Linked DNA regions of Homo sapiens: all the other regions are linked to region 4. The links are contacts of gene promoters, found by promoter capture Hi-C in blood cells and fetal thymus (Javierre and others, 2016). All regions are on one chromosome and are shown on one strand. The core of a region is centred on a gene start or on the middle of the fragment in contact, and the rest is flanking DNA. Distances in the headings are between cores, read along the strand shown.

Evidence for each region. Contacts are between HindIII fragments. The CHiCAGO score rates a contact against its expected background, and 5 or more counts as called.
Region 1: a fragment that was not itself captured here is called in contact with the fragment with the promoter of PSMD3 in region 4 in 3 of 17 cell types (naive B cells, total B cells and naive CD4 T cells); the score reaches 8.6 in naive B cells.
Region 2: a contact is called between a fragment that was not itself captured here and the fragment with the promoter of PSMD3 in region 4, in 1 of 17 cell types (neutrophils). The highest score is 5.2, in neutrophils.
Region 3: a fragment that was not itself captured here is called in contact with the fragment with the promoter of PSMD3 in region 4 in 2 of 17 cell types (activated CD4 T cells and naive B cells); the score reaches 5.8 in activated CD4 T cells.
Region 5: a fragment that was not itself captured here is called in contact with the fragment with the promoter of PSMD3 in region 4 in 1 of 17 cell types (naive B cells); the score reaches 5.3 in naive B cells.

What each region holds. Positions count from the first base shown.
Region 1 is chr17:39,537,208-39,539,907 of GRCh38, forward strand. It overlaps a transcript of CDK12 not described here. Among named protein-coding and RNA genes, the nearest start is that of NEUROD2, 69 kb to the right of the region's middle. The HindIII fragment of the contact is 2,290 bases long and covers 135-2,424 here.
Region 2 is chr17:40,408,038-40,410,737 of GRCh38, forward strand. TOP2A (DNA topoisomerase II alpha) reads right to left here. Exons shown (of 35, transcript NM_001067.4): 11 at 455-593; 12 at 1-87. Among named protein-coding and RNA genes, the nearest start is that of TOP2A, 8.5 kb to the right of the region's middle. The HindIII fragment of the contact is 2,913 bases long and covers 1-2,700 here.
Region 3 is chr17:39,674,797-39,677,496 of GRCh38, forward strand. The region is part of intron 3 of PGAP3 (post-GPI attachment to proteins phospholipase 3); the gene reads right to left. Among named protein-coding and RNA genes, the nearest start is that of PNMT, 7.7 kb to the left of the region's middle. RefSeq lists enhancers at 1-445, 75-2,700, 446-991, 992-1,537 and a silencer at 1,696-1,755. The HindIII fragment of the contact is 233 bases long and covers 1,138-1,370 here.
Region 4 is chr17:39,979,405-39,982,104 of GRCh38, forward strand. PSMD3 (proteasome 26S subunit, non-ATPase 3) reads left to right here and starts at 1,403. Exons shown (of 12, transcript NM_002809.4): 1 at 1,403-1,786. The coding sequence starts at 1,567. RefSeq lists enhancers at 1-412, 834-1,013, 1,234-1,513, 1,314-2,291 and a silencer at 1,694-1,743. The HindIII fragment of the contact is 5,666 bases long and covers 1-2,700 here.
Region 5 is chr17:39,574,189-39,576,888 of GRCh38, forward strand. No RefSeq gene overlaps it. Among named protein-coding and RNA genes, the nearest start is that of NEUROD2, 32 kb to the right of the region's middle. RefSeq lists an enhancer at 368-942. The HindIII fragment of the contact is 2,619 bases long and covers 111-2,700 here.

The DNA.
Region 1 (2,700 bases), core at 30-2,529, 440 kb before region 4:
GAACTACAATAGTGCCTAATGAGGGACACCCTTGGTGAGGATCAGCTTGTAGATGACCCTCCTCACCAAGGCTAATGCAATTTTGAATGCATTTGGACCTGGAGAAAACAGGCTGAATTCAAAGACCTAAAGAAAGCTTAGTAGCCTGGTCCCTTTTTTAAAGTCTGGAACTTTTTAGTTTGGCCTTATACTAGTGTTAATATTTATAATTTCTGTTAGGGGACCAAAAGTCTCAGAAAATGAAGCAATATAAGAGGTGGAAATAAGGGTAAGAAGGGAGAACTAGAAGAGTCTGGTAGCTGGGCTGCAGAAAGAGACTTGGGGTATAATTCCTTATTTTTATTTATTTATTTATTTATTTATTTATTTATTTATTTATTTTTGAGATGGACTTGCTCTTCTTGGAGTGCAGTGGTGTGATCTCGGCTCACTGCAGCCTCCACCTCCCAGGTTCCAGCAATTCTCCTGTCTCAGCCTCCCAAGTAGCTGGGATTACAGGTGCGTGCCACCATGCCCAGCTAATTTTTTGTATTTTTAGTAGTGACAGGGTTTCACCATGCTGGCCAGGCTGGTCTTGAACTCCTGACCTTGTGATCCACCCGCCTCGGCCTCCCAAAGTGCTCGGCCTCCCAAAGTGAGCCACCGCGCCCAGCTTGGATATAATTGCTTATAAAGAAGAGAGGGATACAGGATGGAAGGAAAAATTATGGTTGAGTTAGTGAAATTTATAGGATAATTTTCTTAGAGATTCACAGTTCATTTCAGGAAGACCCCATTAAAGCACCAATACTGAGTAAAGAATTCCCCTTAATTACAGTAGTCTTACCTTTAGGGTTGGAGGATGGGCCAAGAACCCCTAGGATACTATGAAGACATTTTCTGTAGGGAAACTAGAAAAGATGGGCAAATATGTTAAGCAATATGTAAGGACATTTACTTAACACTGTTATCTACATAGTTCAAGAGAGTAATTCAAGAATAAGGAGGAATGACATGGATGCATCACATTAAACAGTTATTTGTATTGTTTGAATTTCAAAACTCCTGCAAGTGGTTTTAGGTATGCTAAGTCAACCTAGAGACTAGTAGTATTCCTCTGCCACTCATTTTAGATCCAAATGATGGCAGTGCATAGAAGAACAAACGAGAATATGCGAATTAGAGTCACAGAATGTTAGAGCTACAAAAGAAGATTAGTTTGTTTGGTTCAGTACCATCTTTAACCAGTAAAAAATGCCCAGAAAGGCCGAGGAACATGTATGGTGTTGCGAGAAAGAAGGGAGAGAAAGGGAACTAACATTGTTGGGTACCTGCTATGTGTCAGGCGCTGCCTAAGTGCTTTGTTTTTATCTTGATTGATTAGCACCTTGAGGCTAAGGGATAGAATGAATAAATGGCAAACCCCGGCTACCTGGGAGCGGTGGCTCACGCCTGTAATCCCAGCACTTTGGGAGGCCAAGGTGGGTGGATCACGAGGTCAGGAGATCGAGACCATTCTGGCTTACACGGTGAAACCCCATCTCTACTAAAAATACAAAAAATTAGCCAGGCGTGGTGGCACAAGCCTGTAGTCCCAGCTTCCCGGGAGGCTGAGGCAGGAGAATTTGCTTGAACCCAGGAGGTGGAGGTTGCAGTGAGTGAAGATTGCGCCACTTCACTCCAGCCTAGGCGACAGAATGAGACTCCATCTCAAATAAATACATACATACATACATACATACATACATACATACATACATACATACATAAGGCTAGTATCCTGAGCAATATGTAGGAGATAAAAGGGAGTGGTAGACCACGTTTTTCTCTCTAACCACACAGGGCTAAACTAGAGGAAGTAAAGAGTCAGCATTTGAGAGTGAGGTTAATCTAAGGAAGTATTTGCCAAACTGTTGAAAGCGACTCATAAATAACTTCTCCATTCCTAGAGACCTTCCAAAACATGTTGATAAGAGTTAGGACTGATAGGGACCAAGATTACTCTTGGCTCTGGAATTGATTTTCATTTTGGAAAATCAAGTCATGACCTGAGAATGTGGGATTAATTGTACAAATAGGAAACAAAATGGAGCTTCTCATCCTAAAATGTCTTCAAAGAGAATAGTATTTATCTACCATGAATGAAGGAGATAAATTCCTTTGGTGACTGTACTTGTTTTTTTGTTTTGTTTTGTAACACTTTGAAGTCATGAAACTGAATTTGTAATCTTGGGGAGATTCAGTGCCAAGTTCAAGGCAGGTGGCAATTTGAAAATTGACAGAATAAGATTGTGTTCCTCATGGTTGTTTGATATAATATCCCAATAGTTATACCATGAGGGCTGCTTCAGTGGGGAGCATTAATATCATTAGCAGAGGCATGTCCTGTGTACAGACAGGACAACCTCTGAGGAAGAAGACTGGGGGAGGGTCCCACCTTCAGGAAGCTTCTGGGTCTTGTGAGAGAGGTCAGTCTTACAGCTGGTGGAGAGTGGGGAATCTGTAAGTCAACATATCAATGCAGGTTGTAATATAAAACTATTATAATAAGAGGAAACCAAAGGAAAGAAATAATCGGAGAAAGTGGACTTATTCAGAAACAATTATTTGAAAATAAAGAAGATAGGGGACATAGAACAGAAGAGGAAGGTGAGCAGTGGGAGGAATCTCATGGAAGAGGGCTCATGTATGTTTTGTGCAGAGGCTGTGAATTGGCTGACC
Region 2 (2,700 bases), core at 148-2,647, 430 kb after region 4:
CAACCACACCAAGGCCTGAAACAGCCAAAGTTTTGGCTGAATCTCCCTCAGTCAGGATAAGCGTACACTCAGTGGAGTTTCGGCCCCCTAAAATAAAAATATACATATTAATATTAGCACATTTAGTTCAACCTCAAATATACTAACTTGAACATGCTGTTTATAGCCTTGTGATAAAACACAATTTACTATATAATGAGCAAAATTATTTGTTAGGTAATAGATCATAATATAAACATTCTTGTTTTATACTCCAAAATAATCACCTCAATATTATTTATAACATGGAAATGACCTAAATCTTCCATAATAGGAAACGGGCCGATTTTTAACAAGTTATTCTGTTGAATATAGTTATTCTGTCAAGGGAAAAATAAATATCCGTGGTATGCCATTAATGAATAAAATAACAACTATAAGACTTAAAAGTTTGGAAACATTATTAAATATATACCTGCATCATTGGCATCATCGAGTTTGGGAATTCCCTTGATTCTATTATGTTTTACAGCTGAACACTTCTTGTTTAACTGGACTTGGGCCTTAAACTTCACCCAGTTTAGTATGCTTTCTACAATACCACAGCCAATGGCCTGAAAACGAGAAGATTCATATTAGGGATCATATTAGGGAAGAAGGGATCTATCAGAAATCTAGAATACAAATGAGCCTTAATACAAATAAAAATGATTCAAAAATTAAAAAGATGTAGAACAATAATTTCTGGATAGAGGGTGGCACATCTTCCCATGTCAGGTTATCACCACTGAGGGAGCTGCTCCTTTTGGTTCATTCGTTCAATAAATATTTACTATATAATTATATTGTGCTAGCACTGAGCTACTTGTTGGAGATATAGTGGTTAAAACAAATTAGACCAGGCACGGTGGCTCACGCCTATAATCCCAGCACTTTAGGAGGCCAAGGTGGGCAGAACACCTGAGGTCAGGAGTTTGAGACCGGCCTGGCCAACATGGCGAAACCCCGGCTCTACTAAAAATACAAAAATTAGCTGGCGTGGTGGTGGGCACCTGTAATTCCAGCTACTCGGGAGGCTGAGGCAGGAGAATCGCTTGAACCCAGGAGGTAGAGGTTGCAGCGAGCCAAGATCGCACCATTGCACTCCAGCCTGGGTGACAAAAGTGAAACTCCGTCTCAAAAAAAAAAAAAAAAAAAAAAAAAAGGGTAGCCAGGCATGGTGGTGGTGAAATGGCTGTAATCCTAGCTGCTTGGGAGGCTGAGGCAGGAGAATTGCTTTAACCTGGGAGGCGCGGGTTGCAGTGAACTGAGATCAAGCCACGGCACTCCAGCCTGGGAAACAGTGAGAAGCTGTCTCCAAAAAAAAAAATTAAAAATAAATAAATAAAATTAGACACAAATAAAACAAATTGAGACACTTGTCCTCATCAAGTTTAAGACACAACATAGAAGACAGACATAGCTGGGTGCAGTGGCTTACGCCTGTAATCACAGCACTTTAGGAGGCCGAGGATGGTGGATCAAGTGAGGCCAGGAGTTCAAGACCAGCCTGGCCAACATGGTAAAACCCCATCTCTATTAAAAATACAAAAATTAGCTGGATGTGATGGTGCATGTCTGTAATCCCCGCTACTCAGGAGGCTGGAGAATCCCAGCTACTCAGGAGGCAAGGAGAATCGCTTGAACCTGGGAGGCAGAGATTGCAATGAGCCAGGATTACGTCACTGCACTGTAGCCTGGGCAACACAGCAAGACTCTGTCTCAAAAAAAAAAAAAAAAAAGACTGGGCACAGTGGCTCATGGCTGTAATCCCAACACTTTGGAAGGCCGAGATGGGTGGATCATTTGAGGTCAGGAGTTTGAGACCAGCCTGACCAACATGGTGAAACCCTGTCTCTACTGAAAATACAACAACAAAAAAATTAGCCAGGCATGGTGATGCATGCCTGTAATCTCAGCTACTCGGGAGGCTGAGGCAAGAGAATCACTGAAACCTAGGAGGCGGAGGTTGCAGTGAGCCGAGATCGTGCCACTGCATTCCAGCCTGGGCGACAGAGCGAGACTCTGCCTAAAAAAAAAGACAGAAATAAAATAAGTTACAGTGTTATAAGTGTTATGGATAAGCAAAAAGTTTGCTAATAAGGTATGTTCAATATTATATTGGAACCAACTTAGGTGGGGGGAAGGGTAGAAAGTAAAGGCTTTCCTGAGGAAAGGACAAGACCTAAAGTAGCCAGGTGAAAAGGATGTATTTCATGCAGAGGGATTAGCATGTGAATAAACTCTGAGGAGGGGAAGAGCACTGTGCTTTTCAGTAATTTAAAAGCAACAGGACAATATACGAAAAACTGGCACTGAGATGAGTTGGAGAAGTAGGTGTAATTAGATTACAGCAGATCTTTCTTGTTGGCCAAATTATGGAATTTGGACTTTCCCTGAGTGGAAGTCATTGAAAGATTTCAAATGAGAGTGAAGATAAAAATGGGTGTTTTAACACAAAAGTCACTCAAAAGCATTCCAAGGAAAGGACTTAACCAGTATGAAGGTTAAGAACCTATTGTAGTAAACCAAAAAAGAGATAATGGTGAGAAGCTACTGCAGCATCCAAGAGATGATTCTTATTGACCGGATTAGAGAGGAGGGGAAATAAAGGAAGGCTCCCAGCTTTCTTGTTTATACAACCTAGAGGTTGGTTGGGGCTTTTTACTAAGATAGGAAGTT
Region 3 (2,700 bases), core at 4-2,503, 300 kb before region 4:
CTTTTCCTGCCCCTGGAGCCCTCTGAACAAACCTATGTCCCTCTACCCCCACCCAGCCAGGGTCCCTGGGGTGGACTTCCTGCCACCCCAAACCCCCAAGGCCACGGGGGGCTGCAGCCTCCACAGGTTCCGGCCTGGCCTGGGAACCAGTTCCGGTATAGCCAAGCTCCCTAGTTACTCAATTGCTAAGACAACAGCCCCCAGGGGCCTTGCCTCCTCCTCCAACCGGCAGGTGTTGACAGCACCACCCCACCCGGGCCCAGGGGAGCCAGTGACCTCAGCCTCTGGGGGCGGGAATGAGGTGGGTGGGGTGGAGGGGCTCGAGCCAGCTTGGGGTGTGTTCCAAGCAGCAGGGGAGGGAGATCAAGCAGATCCCACTGGGGCACAGGCTCCCAGGAGGAGGGTGAACCAAGCCCAGCTTCCTCCTGGCTGGGCCTGCCCAACCCGCCAGACCAGTGGCTGCTCCCGAGCCTGGGAGGAGTAGAGGGCAGGACTGGAGGGGCTGTGGTGGGCCAGGGCCCAGGGGAATGTTTGAGGCCTTCTTCCTGGAAATTAGCTGCGTGGAGAGAGCACAAAAGTTATCTAGCGAATGAGCCTAAGAGCTTGTGGGCGTTGGTGCTGGCACTTTCTTCAGGGACTGCTGTGTCCACAGCAAAGGCCCAAACTGCTGAAAGCAGGGTGGGCTGAAGGGAAGGGCTGGGAAATCGTGACAACCAAAGGAACAGCAGGCCAGGCCGGGAATGGCCTGGAGGTGGGGAGGGATGCGCTAGGGTGGGACAGGCCTGGCGGAGATGAGGAAAGGCCAGGAACTGCTCAGTTGGCTCCAATGTACCAGGAAAACTGGCCAGGCAGGGGACAGAGGGAGGGGGCAAGAAGCTACACTCTGTCTGGCACTGTAGCAGGCAGGTCAGACAGTAAGATGCATTCCAAATGCAGGTCTGGGGAGCTCAGGAGAGAATGGGAGGAGAAGGGGTACAGGCGGGGCAGAACTGCTGCACAGCCAGTCAGGTTCTCGGGGTGCCAAGCTCTGGAAGGCGCAAGGCTGCCTAGTGCCCCTGTCTGGCCTGGGCTCTGGGCTGAGCCTTGCTGCTTCTGCTCCTCTTGACCTGGTCAAAGGGCCCTGCCCTTCTCAGCCCAAGCTTCCCCCGGGACAAATCATGGCTCAAGTGAAACTTCAGTTCCTTTCCAGCCTGGCGTTAGGTGGTGTGGTCTAGGGCAGGCTGCTTCCTCCTTTGAGGATGGCCACTCTGTCCCTTCCACCAGACTCAAGGCTCTGCCCTGCTGCAGCCCCCTCCCCAGAGACAGGCATGGAGGCTGCACAACAGGACTGAACCTGGTGGCTTCTCAGACACTGCTCCCACAGTCTGAAAAGCTTAGAGTCAGCATGGGGAGAGGAGCAGGCTTGGGCTGGAGACGGGACCCAGGCAATCACATGGACCAGTTCTCCCTGGCAGGCCAGGAACAGGGACATCCTTAGGGAGGAGAGTGGCCCTGGAGCCAATGTGGGAAGGAGAAGAGGAAGGCGGCAGGGACTGGCAGCCAGCCAGGCCTCCTTGTCACCCACAGCAGGAAGGGGGAGGTGAGAAGAGGACTGCAGGACTGAGCTAAGTGGCTCAGAACACCGAAAGCAGGGGGTGTGTGTGCGGGCAAACATATGCGTAGGGCCACAGGATGGGTGGGGCTGCTGGGTCCCCTCTCCAACCGCCTCCCTGGGTGCCTTCCACTCACAGAGACCCACCTGAAGCCTGGCCTCTGCACCCCTGAAAAGCCCCTCCCCCCTGGGGAGCATCCCACTCTGGGGGTGCTCCTCTTCTCACCCTTTCCTCAGATTTGGGAGGTAGTGGTATCATTAAGAATGCAAGCCCTACAGCCAGACTGCCAGGGTTCAGTTCCTGGCTCTGCATTTCCTGTGTGTCCTTGGGCAAGTTATTTAGCCTTGCTGTGCCTCAGTTTTCTCATCTGCAAAATGGGAATAATCATAGTTGATAAGGGTTTAATGAGCAATACAAATACAGCGTACAGCACAGAGCCCAGGACAGGCTGAAACATGAGTGTTCTCTCCACTTGCCTGACCAGCACAGAACCCCGTCAGCTTCCCATAGAACTGAGGCCTAAGAGGATGTCTGCCTCCCACTCTCCCTGCAGGCCAAGGATGTTTAGGCAGATAAGGGGTGGTCTCCTAGCTGCCTAGGCCCACCTCCACAGCTCCAGGCTGGGGGAAGAGTGTCCAGTCTTCACAATGAGACAGAGTCTGCATTCAAGTCCTGCCTCAGCCCCTACGCAGCTGTGTGACCTTGGACACATAACCCAGTATGTGTGAGCCTCCACTGCCTCACCTACAAAACAGGTTCATAATGATGCTCACTGCACAGGAGGCCATGAGGACGAGGTCTGCGGAATGCCTGGCACCAAGGAACTCCTCTGAATGGCTGCTGGTTTTGCTGCCTGGTCCATAGTAGGTGCCCATCAATGTCAGTTTCCTTCATCAGGTCCAGTAGACTGACTCTCACCACGCCCGTTCACCTGCCCCTCAACTTCCCTTTCCGCAAGGGTCACAAAGTTTGAGGTCAAACTATGGGGCCTCAGGGTCTCTCCATTCCAGAACGGAGACACCTCAGCTATAGGAAGAGCCCCTCCTCCTTCCTCTGGAGCCATGTTCCCATCAATGTGAACCGAACAGATCCATTTCTCCTCACTCAG
Region 4 (2,700 bases), core at 153-2,652:
GAGGTTCTAATGAGTTTATTCCAATGATGATTCAAAAGTCCTGTTATCCACCCCCCAGCCCTGGAGGGTGAGAGGACAGTTGAGGAGGAACTGGTCAAGGCATGTTCCCTAAAACTAGAGCACATATCTTTCCAGTTAGCGAGTGGCTGTTTAACGCAAGGAACATCCTGCAATCCTATGAAAGAGGATGCAAAAGATATGCAGGATACCCTTTATATATGCAAAGGAGGAGGTCAAAACATATTTCCTGCCTTCTAGGTCCTTACAACAGGGCTAGATTGTCTTGTAGGGTCCGTGAAAGGTCTAAAACTCAGGACTTCCACTTATGGGAGAGAGAAAAGTTTCAAGGTAGGGAGAGAGTTTTTGTTGTGTGTTCTAAGAAATTGGGAGCTATATCCTTCACCTTGTTTCACCTTCCCTGCAGAACCAGTGGGGCAGTCCTTTGAAAAATAAGTGGGTAGGGTTTCTTGTCCAATTTGCTTCCCCTTAGGTACACCACTAAGTAAACCATCATTCTCTCCTTAGGCACACCATTATTCTGTTCCCCATTTCACAATGTCTGTCTGGATGTATAAAAGCCCTCTCAATGGGCTCCCTAAAGCGTCTGCCAGTAGGGGCTCCCACCCTCTTTCCTCAACACTCCCAATCCACCGCAGCCCAGAGCACAGTGTCTGCTTATCTAACCATCTGACTCCCCCGTATACTACATTCTTGAGCTGTTTTTCACCCCCCTATTTGCTAACCGTGGGCCGTACATAGGGTGGACCCCTATATTTTGTTAAACTGGAGTGATTCTACGCAAATGCACGCTCCTACCTATCGGCACTCCCAGCCTGCAGAAATTGTATGCCTTATGTTCAGCACTAAACTCAAATCTAACCAAGGAAGTCCGGATCCCATAGGGTTCTTCCTACTCTCCAGTTCGGTTTATTTTAAGGCCAACAGCCCTAGCTTCACGTCCCTCCTTCACAGCCTTCTTTCCTTCCCTCCTGCCGGATGCGCCCGGCAGCCGTTGAGCACAAGCCCAGCGGATCTGGAAGGAGACCCCGCCGCGACCGGGGAAAATTGAGCGAACTTGGGCGCAAAACCCGCCCGGCAACTCGTGACGTCATCTCGTCCCGCGCTCGGATAGGCTGTACCCACTCCACGCTGGTTGAGGCGCTCTTAAAGTCCTTTGTAACCCAGATTGGAGCCTGAGGGGACCTCTCGTGGACGCCCACAGAAATGCACTCGAGAGGAACATAAAAGCATCACACTTAAGCGCTCGAAAGAAAGCCCCACGAACCCATAAAGGCTCCTCCCCGCTCCTTCCTCGAAGCTCCTCCTTCATCCTGCACCTCGGCTGTGGATTTATTTCCCCTTTGTTGACTCGGCCATCGGCCTGCCGGGCCTGGCGTTTCCCAGAAGGCCCAGCGCCGGGAAGGGGTTTGCAGCTGCTCCGTCATCGTGCGGCCCGACGCTATCTCGCGCTCGTGTGCAGGCCCGGCTCGGCTCCTGGTCCCCGGTGCGAGGGTTAACGCGAGGCCCCGGCCTCGGTCCCCGGACTAGGCCGTGACCCCGGGTGCCATGAAGCAGGAGGGCTCGGCGCGGCGCCGCGGCGCGGACAAGGCGAAACCGCCGCCCGGCGGAGGAGAACAAGAACCCCCACCGCCGCCGGCCCCCCAGGATGTGGAGATGAAAGAGGAGGCAGCGACGGGTGGCGGGTCGACGGGGGAGGCAGACGGCAAGACGGCGGCGGCAGCGGCTGAGCACTCCCAGCGAGAGCTGGACACAGTCACCTTGGAGGGTACGGCAGCCCAGGCCGGGAACGTGCCGCGATCGCGGGTGACAGCGACCCCTGTGATTTGGCTTCTTGCTGGGAAGCCACAGCAGCCTCCACCACCCTCAGTTCTTTGGGATCACCCCCAGATACCTGCTCCCACTGCCCCGACACTCCCGACTCCAGGCCCAATGACTGAACCTTCTCTCCAGGCTGGGAACCACTCCCCTCCCATCCCCTCCATCCCCATATCTGGGGTTGCATCTATATCTAGGTCCCAGTGGGCCTGGGGACTCCCTCTTTTAAGTCCTCCCCTCTGACCTATTCCGTTTATATCCCACCCGACTGATTTTAGCGCCTCCAATATATGACTGATTGTTCCCGCTGGAAACCAGTGTTTGTGTCTGTGTGTAAACAGGGCCAGGATGACCTAGAATATTGACTCCTGAGTTTTAAAACTGTACAGCAGATTTTTGTTGTCCTAGCTGCCTTTAGCACACTCCCCCGAATGAACCATTTCGACCTAGTATCTTGTTTCCTACTTCTCTAACTGAAGTGTCCCAACAGTCCCCTTGCTGTCTCCTCCCTTCAGGTCCTTACTGCCCCTCTGTTTCTAAAGGGTTTAAGTACATACACACTTAAAACTTTTCGGGTGTCATCTTTGTTTGGTTTTGTAATACTCAACCTTTGGCCTAAACTCCTATATACCGGTGTCTCCTATTTCTTTTCTCCGAGGTTCCTGTTTCGAGTGTCTGTAGTCCTCTTGTTCCTCCAAGTTCATGTTTTACTTTTCCCACTTACAGCGTCCTGTTTCCATTTGAAGTGGGCAAAGTGAGAGCTTCCCACTGTGATCCTGGTGCCATTTTCCTGGTTCTGGATCAAGTGGGACCAGACTACTTACTAGGTTTTCTTTTCACTAAAATGCGTGAGAAACTAGCTCA
Region 5 (2,700 bases), core at 170-2,669, 410 kb before region 4:
TGGTGACGCGTGTCTTATGTGCCTCCCTGGGCATCTTCTCAGTACAGTTCTCAGTAGAAGCAGGGGCAGGGTCTGGACCCAACCAACACAGGACACCCCGCAAGGATCTAAGCTTAAAGGAAGGCCAGGAGTCTGTGTGAGGGAGAGGACCTTTTCCCCAGAATCCAGCATGGTGTGCCCACCCCACGCCCAAACCAAGTACTGACACCTTAAAAAGAGCATCTGGGCCGGGTGCGGTGGCTCCCGCCTGTAATCCCAACACTTTGGGAGGCCGAGGCGGGCGGATCATGAGGTCAGGAGTTCGAGACCAGTCTGGCCAACATGGTGAAACCCCGCCTCTACTAAAAATACAAAAAAAAAAAATAGCTGGGCGTGGTGGCGGGCGCCTGTAATCCCAGCTACTCTGGAGGCTGAGGCAGGAGAATCGTTTGAACCCGGGAGGCAGAGGTTGCAATGAGCCAAGATTGCACCATTGCATTCCAGCCTGGGCAACAAGAGCAAAACTCCGTCTCAAAAAAAAAAAAAAAAAAAAAAAAAAAAAAAAAAAAAAAAAAGAGCATCTGGGGCCAGAACTGAGATTGGAGCATCTACTTAGTTCCGCCACTTGGTTTGTAGCCTGGGCAAGTCGCTTTACCTTTCTTAGCCATGGCTTATCCATCTATACAATAGGGATAAGCCAGTTGCCAATGACTAAATGGGATAATATGTAATGTGTAGATGGCAGGACCTTAAGTCCTCTGGCAAAAAGAAGAAAGGGAGATAAGGGGCTGACCTCTATCCCTGCTGCTGTTTTGGGTGGATACCTTGAGGGAGGTGAGTCTTCTCCATATGCTTAAATCCCTGCTTAACTGGAAGATTACCTCAAACCTTCCAGCCAAAGCCGCCCCATTGTCACAGTAGAGGGGCAAAACTGCTCTTTACCTCATTGGCATTGCACGGATTCAATATCTAGGTTTACACCAGGCTCTCTACTACTGTCCTTCTCTCCTTGGGTCCTCTCTTCCCACAATCCCTGACAGTCTCCCTCTCGTGCCTTGCCCCTGTCCTGTCCAAGGGCCAGACCTGGGAAGTTTCTTCCATAGACTCCAACCTTTGATCCCTCTCAGCCCTGGGAAAGAGGGAACTGGTGGAGAATTTGAGGCCGTTTAATGTATACCTGTCATGCTTGTGAATGTGATCTGAGCCTCTCTGGCAACTTCAGTGTCTATCTCAGGGCCTGTTTCCTCTTCTGTAAATTCATTATTCTTGCAACCCACATTGACTGGGTGACAACAGCAGGGCAGCATGGTGCACCCAGCAGGTTGGGAGTATGGAAAAAACACAGGATGGAAAGAACTCCACTGAGGCCGGGCTCGGTGGCTAATGCCTGTAATCCCAGGACTTTGGGAGGCCGAGGTGGGCAGATCGCCTGAGGTCAGGAGTTGAAGACCAGCCTGGCCAACATGGTGAAACCTCGTCTCTACTAAAAATACAAAAAGTAGCCAGGCATGGTGGTGCGCACCTGTAATCCCAGCTACTCAGGAGGCTGAGGCACGAGAATCACTTGAACCCGGGAGGCAGAGGTTGCAGAGAGCTGAGATCGTGCCACTGCACACTGCAGCCTGGGTGACAGAGTGAGACTCCATCTCAAGAAATAAAACCCCACTGTGAAACTACTGATCTGGGGACAACAGACCAATGCACACAGCAGGCTCTCCAATACTAGGGGTCGGTGCAGGGACACCTCCCAGATTCTAGAGCATTCCACAGTGTCATGATGCTTCCTCCTGTCCTTCCTGAGTACAGCAGACTCTTCCCCTAGACTTCTGTCAGAGGCTAATTCATTTCCTACGGGAAAAGACATCCTAAAATTTGAGTCTGGGGCTTTTGTTCATTCCCTTTTGTTGGAATTCCCTATTTTTACACCAGTCATCCAGTATCTTTATATTCAAAGGGAAAACACAATAAAAATACTTCCAGTTTGCCAGTAGCCAGAATCAGGTTAGCTCATGTATCTAGGTTTGCAAAGCTGCCCAGGACCTTTGTTCAGTGTGGCCCTGTGTGTGGCTGCCTTAGTCTACCCACTGGCCTGTCTGCCCACCCATCCCTGGCTGGCCTGCCCTATCTTCAGCGCCTATAGCCCTCAGCTCCACTTCCTATTAATACAAACCATGTGGGACCCTCACTGTGGCGTCTCCAGGCAAAAGATGAAGCCACAGCCGCCTAGTGGCTGCCAGGGAGGCTGGCAGGAAGGGGCATCTCTACCCGGCGTCTCCTGGGAAACAGCGAGCTCCCCAGAGAAGGGACATTTGGAAATAAAATTTCTGCCGTTGTGTGTCAATGTGTGTGTTGAGGCAGGAGAGGGAGTTAAGAAGCCTCCCCAGCCCCTCTGTTCCTTTCTCCTCAGGAAAAGCCTCTTGGAGCAACTCTCCCACTGCCTCCCAAAACTCCAGCCCCTTGTAGGCTCTCCTGGGACTGGACAAGTGGCTGAAAATGTTCCTTCAGATTCATGATGCAGGTGAAGAAGAGCACTGGACTGAGAGTCAGAGGCCCCAGTTCTGAGCTTCCTGACTTACCCCGTGGCTCTGGCCTGTTATACCTCCCTTTCTGAGTCCTAAGTTCCTCCTCTGTAAAATGAAATTTTTTCATCATTCCTGGTCTCTACATTGGGCCTCCTCCACAAAGTCCAGGAATATAGTTGGGGCATTCTAGGCCATTCTT